Linked DNA regions of Homo sapiens: regions 2 and 3 are each linked to region 1. The links are contacts of gene promoters, found by promoter capture Hi-C in blood cells and fetal thymus (Javierre and others, 2016). All regions are on one chromosome and are shown on one strand. Each heading gives the region's core, a stretch centred on a gene start or on the middle of the fragment in contact. The rest is flanking DNA. Distances are from core to core; before and after follow the strand shown.

What was found. Contacts are between HindIII fragments. The CHiCAGO score rates a contact against its expected background, and 5 or more counts as called.
Region 2: a contact is called between a fragment that was not itself captured here and the fragment with the promoter of SMTNL1 in region 1, in 1 of 17 cell types (total CD8 T cells). The highest score is 8.1, in total CD8 T cells.
Region 3: a contact is called between a fragment that was not itself captured here and the fragment with the promoter of SMTNL1 in region 1, in 2 of 17 cell types (naive CD8 T cells and total CD8 T cells). The highest score is 5.6, in naive CD8 T cells.

What each region holds. Positions count from the first base shown.
Region 1 is chr11:57,536,031-57,539,266 of GRCh38, forward strand. It overlaps SMTNL1 (smoothelin like 1), which reads left to right and starts at 1,565. Exons shown (of 8, transcript NM_001105565.3): 1 at 1,565-1,612. The HindIII fragment of the contact is 14,036 bases long and covers 485-3,236 here.
Region 2 is chr11:57,818,435-57,821,670 of GRCh38, forward strand. CTNND1 (catenin delta 1) reads left to right here. Exons shown (of 21, transcript NM_001085458.2): 21 at 1-1,106. TMX2-CTNND1 (TMX2-CTNND1 readthrough (NMD candidate)) reads left to right here. Exons shown (of 21, transcript NR_037646.1): 21 at 1-746. Among named protein-coding and RNA genes, the nearest start is that of CTNND1, 58 kb to the left of the region's middle. The HindIII fragment of the contact is 1,768 bases long and covers 835-2,602 here.
Region 3 is chr11:57,799,962-57,803,197 of GRCh38, forward strand. It overlaps CTNND1 (catenin delta 1), which reads left to right. Exons shown (of 21, transcript NM_001085458.2): 7 at 1,772-2,235. It overlaps TMX2-CTNND1 (TMX2-CTNND1 readthrough (NMD candidate)), which reads left to right. Exons shown (of 21, transcript NR_037646.1): 8 at 1,772-2,235. Among named protein-coding and RNA genes, the nearest start is that of CTNND1, 40 kb to the left of the region's middle. RefSeq lists an enhancer at 552-791. The HindIII fragment of the contact is 603 bases long and covers 1,257-1,859 here.

The DNA of each region.
Region 1 (3,236 bases), core at 315-2,814:
CAGAAAGATCTCTCTTTCAGATCATCCCGGGCAAGACCTCCAAGTTCCTGTCATATTTCTGTTAATTAATTAGTTATTTCATTCAGTATGTATTTATCAAGTACCTAATATGAGCCAGGCAATTCTGCTGGGATCTAGGCATACAGCCATGAGTATGGTAGATAAAATCCCTGCCCTCATGGAGCTTAAAGCCTAGTGAGAGAGTCAGATAATAAGGAAATGAATAAGGTAATTTTAGATTTAGTATTATGAGGACAATAAAAACTGCTGAAATGAGGGAGAGGAATTGAAGGTCATGGAAAACCTCTCTGAGGGAATGAAATTTCAGCTAAGTCCAGAAGAATGAGAGGGAGGCAGTCTTACAAAGAGTAGAAGGAAAAACCAGTCCTGAGTCTGAAAAGGGATGGATTTATTTAAGGAATAGGAAGGAGGCCAGTGTGGCCCAGTGGTGGGGCTTGGGGTAGGAGGACTGGGGGGGATCCCAAGCTTCGTGGGAGTGTCCTCTGCACCCATTCTCCAAAAGTAGTGCCTTTCTTAGATTGTAAAACACACAGAGAAAGTGAAGACTTTTTTTTGAGATGGAGTCTCTGTCACCCAAGCTGGAGTGCAGTGACTTGCTGCAACCTCTGCCTCCCAGGTTCAAGCAGTTCTCGTGCCTCAGCCTCCCAAGTAGCTGAGATTACAGGCATGCGCCACCAAGCCCGGCCAATTTTTGTATTTGTAGTAGAGACAGGGTTTCACCCTGTTGACCATGCTGTTCTTGAACTCCTGGCTTCAAGCAATCCACCCGCCTCGGCTGCCCAAAGTGCTGGGATTACAGGCATGAGCCACCATGCCCAGGCTTGTTTTGTTTTTTTCTTAGCAAAATGTCAGTTCAGTATAAAAATGTGTTCAGAGCCTACTGTGTACCTGTCACTTCAGCTCAAAATAGAACTCAGGAGTTTTGTATTTTCCAGGCTCCGTCCAGTGATCCGTCAGCTTGTCCCATCACTTTTGCCCTCTCTGCCCCTCCCCCTCCAAATCTCTCAGTCAACTGTGAGCCCCAAGACACATCCCCTGTGTTGGCAGCTGCCCTACTCGCCCCCTCCTTAGCCCAGCCTTAAGCAGCTGCTTTTGTCTGAGGACGAGGGAAAGGGGCTATGTAAGGAACGTGGCGGGGTGGGTGTGAAGGGAGCACAAGAGGCCTCGCCTGGGCTCTGGATGAGCAGTGGAGGCCAGGGCCATGCTCTAAATGAGTCCTGAAGATGGTTGTCAAGGTCCCTAGGGTTAGGAGAGTCCACTGGGGAGAAAGATGACCACAGGACGGATGCTGCCAGGCTCAGGGCGGAAGGGACGTGCCGTGATTGAAAGGTGCCACCTGTCAGATCTTCCACGGGAAATCCGAGCCTCCCAGTCTAGGGTAAAGTGTTGTACCAACAGGCCAGTAAACAATGCTCTTCAGGCAGCCCAAGACTCTTGAAGTGGGGGTGGGGTGGAAGAGGGAGAGGAAGGGGGGAGGCGGGACCAAAGAGCTGGGGGCTAGAGGCCACTGGGGCTTAAAGGCAGCCTGGGAGTGAGGCCACTCAGCTGGAGCAAAGAGACAGCTCCCAAGCCACAGGCAGAAGCCCCACAGGTAGGAGAAGCCCTGGCACCCTTTCTAAGGGTCCCTCCCCATCTGCCAATTCTCACTCCCACTGTCCAAGGGCCAGAGCCTCCCAGGAGGGCCCCCCATTTGGAGAAATCCAGGCTCCTTTCTAATTCTCTCCACCACAATGTCTACTCTCTTTAGATGCCTGGGGTCTCAGCCCTGCACCAGAGCACCTACAGAGCAGACTGCAAGTGGCCATCCACGAGGAGGCCACAGAGCAGGGGAGGGGACCTTGGGAGTCTCAAGAGTCAAACTGGGTTGGGGGGTAGACTGTCTAAGCCAAGCCTGTCCAGCCCACAGGCTACCTGTGGCCCAGGATGGCTTTGAATGTAGCCCAACATGAATTCATAAACTTTCTTAAAACATTATGAGATTTTTTTTTTTTTTGCAATTTTTGTTTTAGCTCATCCACTATCGTTAGTGTTAACGTATTTTACATGTGGCCCAAGACACTTCTACTTCTACCAGTGTGGCTCAAGGAAGCCAAAAGATTGGATACCCCTAGTCTAAGCAATTGAGGTCGGCCTCTCCAAGGGAGGGCCCCTGGCTGAGTGGGGAAGGTGGAAGCCTTAGGACAACCAGATGACAGATGAGGCTGCAGTGGGTGGCAGACGCACCACAGAACATCCAGTGTTTATACTACTGGGAGTTTGGATCTTGGGCTCCTGGGTCCCTTTCCTCCTGGTCTGCCAGAAGAAACAGGAAGAGAGAGGGAGGGGAGATATCTGCAGTGCTGCTTTGGACACAAAACAGGGATGGTTTGGAGACTTCCTGGGGAAGGAAGGAGGAAGGAAAGGAGAGAATAAGAAAGGAAGGTGGGGGCAGAGAAACTTTCATGAAGGGCCTACTGTGCACCTAGAAGAAAGAGGGAGGAACTCCTCGGCTGAATCTGACTGCCCTTCCCAACTGGTGGGGTGCCCCCACTCTGGGCCAGGGCCTTTGTAGGGACACTGGGCTGCGGAGCTAGTGGGAGCATATATTTGATGTGAGCTCTGGAGTGGAAGTTGGGATACTTGGATTCTAGATAGAGAGCCAGGCCACTTGTCCTATAACTTTAGTCAAGGGACTTCAACTCCCTGAGCCTGAAATCCCCATTGGCTCCCTAATGGGGCCAATAACCTATTCTGAAGGGTCGGAGCAAGAAATGACCAAGAGAAAGCAGGGCCTCCGCAGCATAAGCTGTAAACTGCTGTAGGGCTGTGAATGCTGGGGGTGGGTGGTGGCGTCCTGGTTTCTCAGCATTCTGAGCATCTTCACTCCTTTTCTATTTGTGACAAGCCTGGAGGGTGGAAAGCTGAGGTGATAAACACGCAGGATAGCCGAGGTGTGTGTCCGTGTGCGTGCACCTACCCTTCCCCTCCACCACCCTAAGTATGCAGCGTGTAGGCAGAAGGAAAGATGGTTAGAGCGGCCAGTCTCAGTGGCTCATACCTATAAACTCAGCACTTTAGGAGGCCGAGGCAGGAGGTTCACTTGAGGCCAAGAGTTTGAGACCAGCCTGGGAAACATAGCGAGACCCCATCTCTATAAAAAAAATAAAAAACAAAAAATTAGCCAGGTGTGATGGTGCACATCTGTGGTCACAGCTCCTCAGGAGGCTGAGGTGGGA
Region 2 (3,236 bases), core at 469-2,968, 280 kb after region 1:
TTTAAAGTGTGTATGTGGGGGGTCTGTGTCATTTCTTCACTTCAAGCTGTTATTTCTTCCCTGCTTTGCATCTTTGTTACTTCCTTATGTATCAGTGTCCTTTCCAGAGCAACCAGAAGGAGGTTATACCAGGATTTATTTTGAGCTCAGCCCCAACTCTTTATCAAGCAACATTCTTGTTAACTATATGTGAAACATTTTTTCTTCTGAAGATTCTTAAAAATTGAATGTGGCTGAAGTTGAACATGGGAGCTTATTGCTAATTTAGAGATAGGAAACTGAAGCATAAAGAATTAATGACTTACTTTAATTACTGGAATTCTTCTGCAACATTTGACAAAACTAACCTTGAATAAGGCCCACTGTAATACGTAGCTCTCTTAAATATAACACTTAGGACTAGAAGATTAGAAACTACCAATCCCAACTACGTAATAGGAAAATGTAGGATCAAAAGGCCCATGTATATAAGTACTGACCACTGGGCCATAATGTTGCTTCTCAGGCTATATGCAGTCCTTTAGTCAGAAGTCAATAGGCCTATTTATTAATATTTTACAGACCATATTACCTGGATTACCAGGGACTATCTTTGCTGCAGAGATCAAGGGTTAAGATCTATGGGAAGATACTTATTTTTCTGAGGTCCTTATGTCCTGTCATATAATTAAAGACTCAAGAGAATTTATGTGAAATGCTTTCTGTATGCCCAAATCTTTAGATTAAAATTATATAGCTGCTCCTGATGATGGTCCTGTCTTGTTTTATTGAACTAGGACTTGGGTATGAAAACTTTCATGGGCTAGTGAGACCAGGAAATCAACTAGCTTTTAAAGCTTGATTTGTGTCTAACAATTGTAGTGTTAGATTAGAGGTTGAAGTACAAAGCCAAAAAGCTATTAAGAGTTTACTTTCCAAAGAGTTTTGATAGCCCTGCTTGAGATGATTTTTATCTAAATAGAAAAGCCTGGCTGCTTGTCAGCAACACTTTATTTCCCTGTTATGTTCTTATCCTTTGGCATTGAGCTAGATACAAACCCTACTCTTCTCTCTTCCTTCTGGATTGGTCCATTTGTTTATCTCATTCAATAAATATTTGCCAAGCACCTCCTATATGCTAAGCGTTGTGTCAAGGTTAGGTTTAGATTAGAGAGTGAAACAGATGGATCTTTTCTCATAGATTGCAATCCATGAGAATCCTCTATAGCTAAGATCTATGATCAGACGAGATCGTGTGCGTTCAGGGTGATATGGCCATAGACAAGATCTATGATCTTAAAAACACTTCTCTCTGTGCCATATCTAAATACAATGAGATGTTACACAGAATGATGTGTAAAGGCCCTATCTCACAAGTTTCTTGACACTGATGTACTTTGTGACAGAGGTCAAAGCTGGGACCTCACTTGGCCACTTTTTTTTTTTTAGACAGAGTCTTGCTCTGTCACTCAGGGGCACAATCTCGGCTCACTGCAACCTCAGCCTCCTGGGTTCAAGCGATTCTTCTGCCTCAGCCTCCCGAGTAGCTGGGATTACAGGTGTGTACCACCACGCCTGGCTAATTTTGTATTTTTAGTAGAGACAGGATTTCACCATGTTGGCCAGGCTGGTCTCAAACTCCTGACCTCAAGTGATCCACCCTTCTTGGCCTCCCAAAGTGCTGGCATTACAGGTGTGAGGCACTGCGCATGGCCGGCCACTTGTTTTTCTTGCTGAACTAATTTTCTTTGCTACAAACTGGAATCACCTCACCCAGGAAGAACTAAGAACCAGTCTTTCCATATCATTTTTTTCTCATTTTGTCTATTTTTATATCTGAAGCAAAGGTTCTTAATATTTTCATAGATGGAATTGACTAGACCTAGCCCTGTATATCTGAGCAAGTTACATAAGAATTCCCTGTATGCTTGTTGAAAATGCAGAGTCCCATGTTCCATTTCCAAAAATCGATTCAGTAGGTGGGACTGAGGAATCTAAAATCATGGTAAGTCATCCAGGTTATCCTCTTTTTTTTTGTTTTTGTTTTTGTTTTTTTTTTTGAGACGGAATTTCACTCTTGTCACCCGGGCTGGAGTGCAATGCCACGATCTCAGCTCAGTGCAACCTCTGCCTCCCGGATTAAAGCGATTCTCCTGCCTCAGCCTCTTGATGAGCTGGGACTACAGGCACCCGCCACCACATCCAGCTAATACTTGTATTTTTAGTAGAGACGGGGTTTCACCATGTTGGCCAGGCTGGTCTTGAACTCCTGACCTCAGGTGATCCATCCACCTAGGCCTCCCAAAGTGCTGGGATTACAGGCATAAGCCACCATGCCTGGCCCATCCAGGTTATTCTGATGTATGTGGTCAGTTAACTGTGACTTAAGGGACTGATCTAGTGACTTGCTTAAGGTTATAGCCTCAAAGTGGAACCCAGGATTACTGGCTTCAACTCCACTGGCAGTAATACTAGCATGGTGAATGTAGACAATATGATGTGGTGATCACCATTTTAAGAGAGCATTCATAGAGGAAACTTTATCTCAAAGGAATGCATTGCTTTCAATAGAGTTTGAGATAATGGTAAGTGATAGGTTGGTGTGTGGTATCTGGGTAGGAGAAGCTTCTCATCCTGAAAATCATATGTAGGTAATGCTCAGGTTGCTGAGGCAGGAAGCTAGCCCTTAATTTGGGGTCCTGTAGGTCACAGAGAATCCCCTGGAATTGCCGACTTTGACTTAAGTGTCACTTCTAGCTACAAAGGGTATCTCAACTGGCGAGCAAGTGGCCCCATTGGCTAAAGCCAAGGAGACCACATCTGGAAACTTAAATCACTCTGGTAGCTTCCAGAAAGAGCTACCTCAGGAAAGCTCAAAAAAGAAACAAGATAATTGTTAGGAACAATTTTTTTTCACACAGCTTTAAGACTGTTCTGTTGCCTGTGTCACTTAAAGCATTAGTTCTTCAACTGATCCATCCAGGATTTAGAGACAGACATGGATGAAGAGAAAGCTGGAGGAGGTAAGATAGGTTGATTGGTCTGCATCATTTTAACCTGACATTTTTCTCCTTTTATGCAGTGTAAAATGACCATGGATAGCTATCCATGAATGGACTAAGAGCTTTACACTTGTTATAATTGTAGGAGCTATAAGCATGTGGCAACTAGCTTTAAAATTTTTTTTTACCTGAGAAAAAGTGCTATACTTATCTCCATATACTACTTTATTTTTTAAAAAAGACAGGTTATTCCAC
Region 3 (3,236 bases), core at 308-2,807, 260 kb after region 1:
ATTCATTTTGTTTCCGTGTTTTTTTTTTTTTTTTTTTTTTTTTTGAGATGGAGTCTTGCTCTGTCACCCAGGCTGGAGAGCAGTGGTGCGATCTGGTATTATACCCAGGAGGCTTTTTGTTCCATGCATGGTATTTTATAATGTTAGTAAATACTTTTCCTTAATTTTATAGTAAGCAGAAAATTTTTATGGTTGGGGTGGATGCAAAAGTGATACATAATAGTTTAGAAGACAACCAATTTTGTTTTACCAGCTGTTTGGGCATTTTTAGTACCCCCTTCTTGATTTGAAGGGTTTAATCTTGACCTTTTTTTTTTTTTCTTCGAAATAGAGTCTCGCTCTGTCACTTAGGCTGGAGTGCAGTGGCACAATCTCAGTTCACTGCAACCTCCACCTCTTGGGTTCAAGCGATTCTCTTGCCTCCGCCTCCCAAGTAGCTGGGATTACAGGTGCCCACCACCATGCCCAGCTAATTTTTGTATTTTTAGTAGAGATGGTGTTTTTCCATGTTGGCCATGCTGGTCTCGAACTTCTGACCTCAGGTAATCCGCCCACTGCAGCCTCCCAAAGTGCTGGGATTACAGATGTGAGCCACCATGCCTGGTCCTGTTTCCGTGTTATTTTAAGACCATCTTGGTCATGGTTTACTAAATGCTTTGTCCATCTGAATCACTGTTGCATAGTTGATGTTGATACCTGTGAGGCAGGCCTTCTGCTCAGGGCAACCTTGAGTATTTGTTGACAGTGGGAGTGGTTTTGTAGAACAAACAATGGCTTATTTGGAGAGCTCCACACAATAGATTATCCTCTCCTGTGGGAGCCAGAAAGAGATGAGCTCACAGATAATGGGTTTCTTCCTTCCTGGTAGTTACGAATAAATAATAGTGTGACAGACTCACCCTCTAGTGGTTGTTGGTAGTACTGAAACAGGAAGAATTGTCTCCTGGTTTGATTTTTCTTACTTTCAATTGCTTTCTCTGTTCCTAGTGGCTGGGCTTCCCAAATGTGATGTTGGTGAATAGGCTTCATTTTGAAAGAGCTGGAGGTATTGTCTTTAGAAATTGGAGGATGGAATCTTACCTCTTAACACATTTGTTGAGTAGCAGACATGACCTTGGAATGACTGTGAAAATTACTTTTCAAGTTTATACCTCATCAGTACCAAAGCCAGATCCTCCTGTGATGTAGCAGGAAGCCCTTTATTAGTTTTTCTCTATCAATCCATCTTTTATAATTTCCAAAATAGGATAAGGAGAAGCTTAAATATGAAATGTATTTAAAGGTCTTATCCTACCAGTTGTTTCCTGTGTGTAAATGCCTAATTTCCTGTTTGGTTAAGGAACTGTTCTCAGACTTCTGTGGCATTGAGTCAGTTGCTTTGGTTAATTCTGTTCTCTGAGAGTTTATCCTGATCTCTACCTAGACAAGTTAATAACTGTCAGATATCATTCAAATAAATGATAAGTAGTAAGGATTTGGTTCTTTCTTTTTGATTAGCCTTTCCTGAATGCTTGTTACTTTCTAAGCCTGCAGACTTCAAAGAAAAAAATGTAGTTTTAATTAAATTGCAGGTGTTTTTAAAATTATTACCTTTTATTTTTACTAACCCATTGAGGAAAATTGATCAGTATATTATTCATGCAAAGGAGAGATAAGATGAGCACACTGAAACTCCAGTTAATCCTCCTTTGCAGATGAGGGTAATGGGAATGTCCAGGAAGCTAGCCATAATGACTTGATGTATTCTCTTGGTTCTTCCAAAACTTCTCAGGAGCTATGAAGACATGATTGGTGAGGAGGTGCCATCGGATCAATACTACTGGGCTCCTTTGGCCCAGCATGAGCGAGGAAGTTTAGCAAGCTTGGATAGCCTGCGCAAAGGAGGGCCTCCACCTCCTAATTGGAGACAGCCAGAGCTGCCAGAGGTGATCGCCATGCTTGGATTCCGCTTGGATGCTGTCAAGTCCAATGCAGCTGCATACCTGCAACACTTATGCTACCGCAATGACAAGGTGAAGACTGACGTGCGGAAGCTCAAGGGCATCCCAGTACTGGTGGGATTGTTAGACCATCCCAAAAAGGAAGTGCACCTTGGAGCCTGTGGAGCTCTCAAGAATATCTCTTTTGGACGTGACCAGGATAACAAGATTGCCATAAAAAACTGTGATGGTGTGCCTGCCCTTGTGCGATTGCTTCGAAAGGCTCGTGATATGGACCTTACTGAAGTTATTACCGGTGAGTTCTAGGCCTAAGGAAAATTGCTAAGTCAGTGTTACTCTCTAGTGATGTTGAGAACTAGAGGGATTTCCAGACCTTTTACTTTTGATGAAAGGTTGTGAACTGGTGGCTGTGGGTCAAATCCATCTCACAGATTTGTTTGGATCACACAGCATTATTGAAATTTTAAAGAACTGGTTGCTGATGTTTAAAATTCAGAAGATTTCACTTAAAATTCCAGATTCTTGGCTTCTATTAAAAACGTGGAAGAGTTGTTAACAATGGATCTCTTTTCTTCCTTAGCAGTATTTGGTCTGAACTGATTGGAGCATGTGCTCTCTAATTTACACTAATCTCCAACACATTCTATTATCTGACCAACTACAGCTGTTTAGGAAGTTGTTTCCCAAACATGGAGCTGTCAACTGCTATTTTTTCACATGCTTGTAATTTCTTTTAATTATCTTCCTCTCTTGACTCACCGGCTTGACCCATATAGACATTTAAGCTTGTGGTTCTTGCTTTATTTAGAGCAGTAGTTTTTCAGATTGTGGGTTGTGATCTATTTGTGTGATCCGTTAGTGAATAAAACAAAATTTTGTGGAGCATAATCAGCATTCCAAGGGAAAGGAATAAAGAAAAAGTAGTATAGACCATTGTTTCTCAGTTGTGGGCCATTTTGCCTGCCCTGCCCTGAGGACATTTGGACATTTGCAGTGTTGGAGATATTTTTGGTTGTTATAACTTGGAACAGGGGAGAGGGAGTGCTACTGGCATCTAGTGAGTAAAGGCCAGGGGTACTGGTAAACATCCAACAATAGACAAGACAGCTCCTCATAACAAAGAATCATCTGGCCGAAAATGTCAGTGGTGCTGAGGTTGAAAAACTCTGGTATAGACAGATCGGAGAGCATTGAGCATTGCTTATAGTTTTGTTTGTTTTTTTTGAGATGGAGTCTCGCTCTGTCACCCAGGCTGGAGTGCAGTGGCACAATCTCAGCTCACCGCAAGCTCCGCCT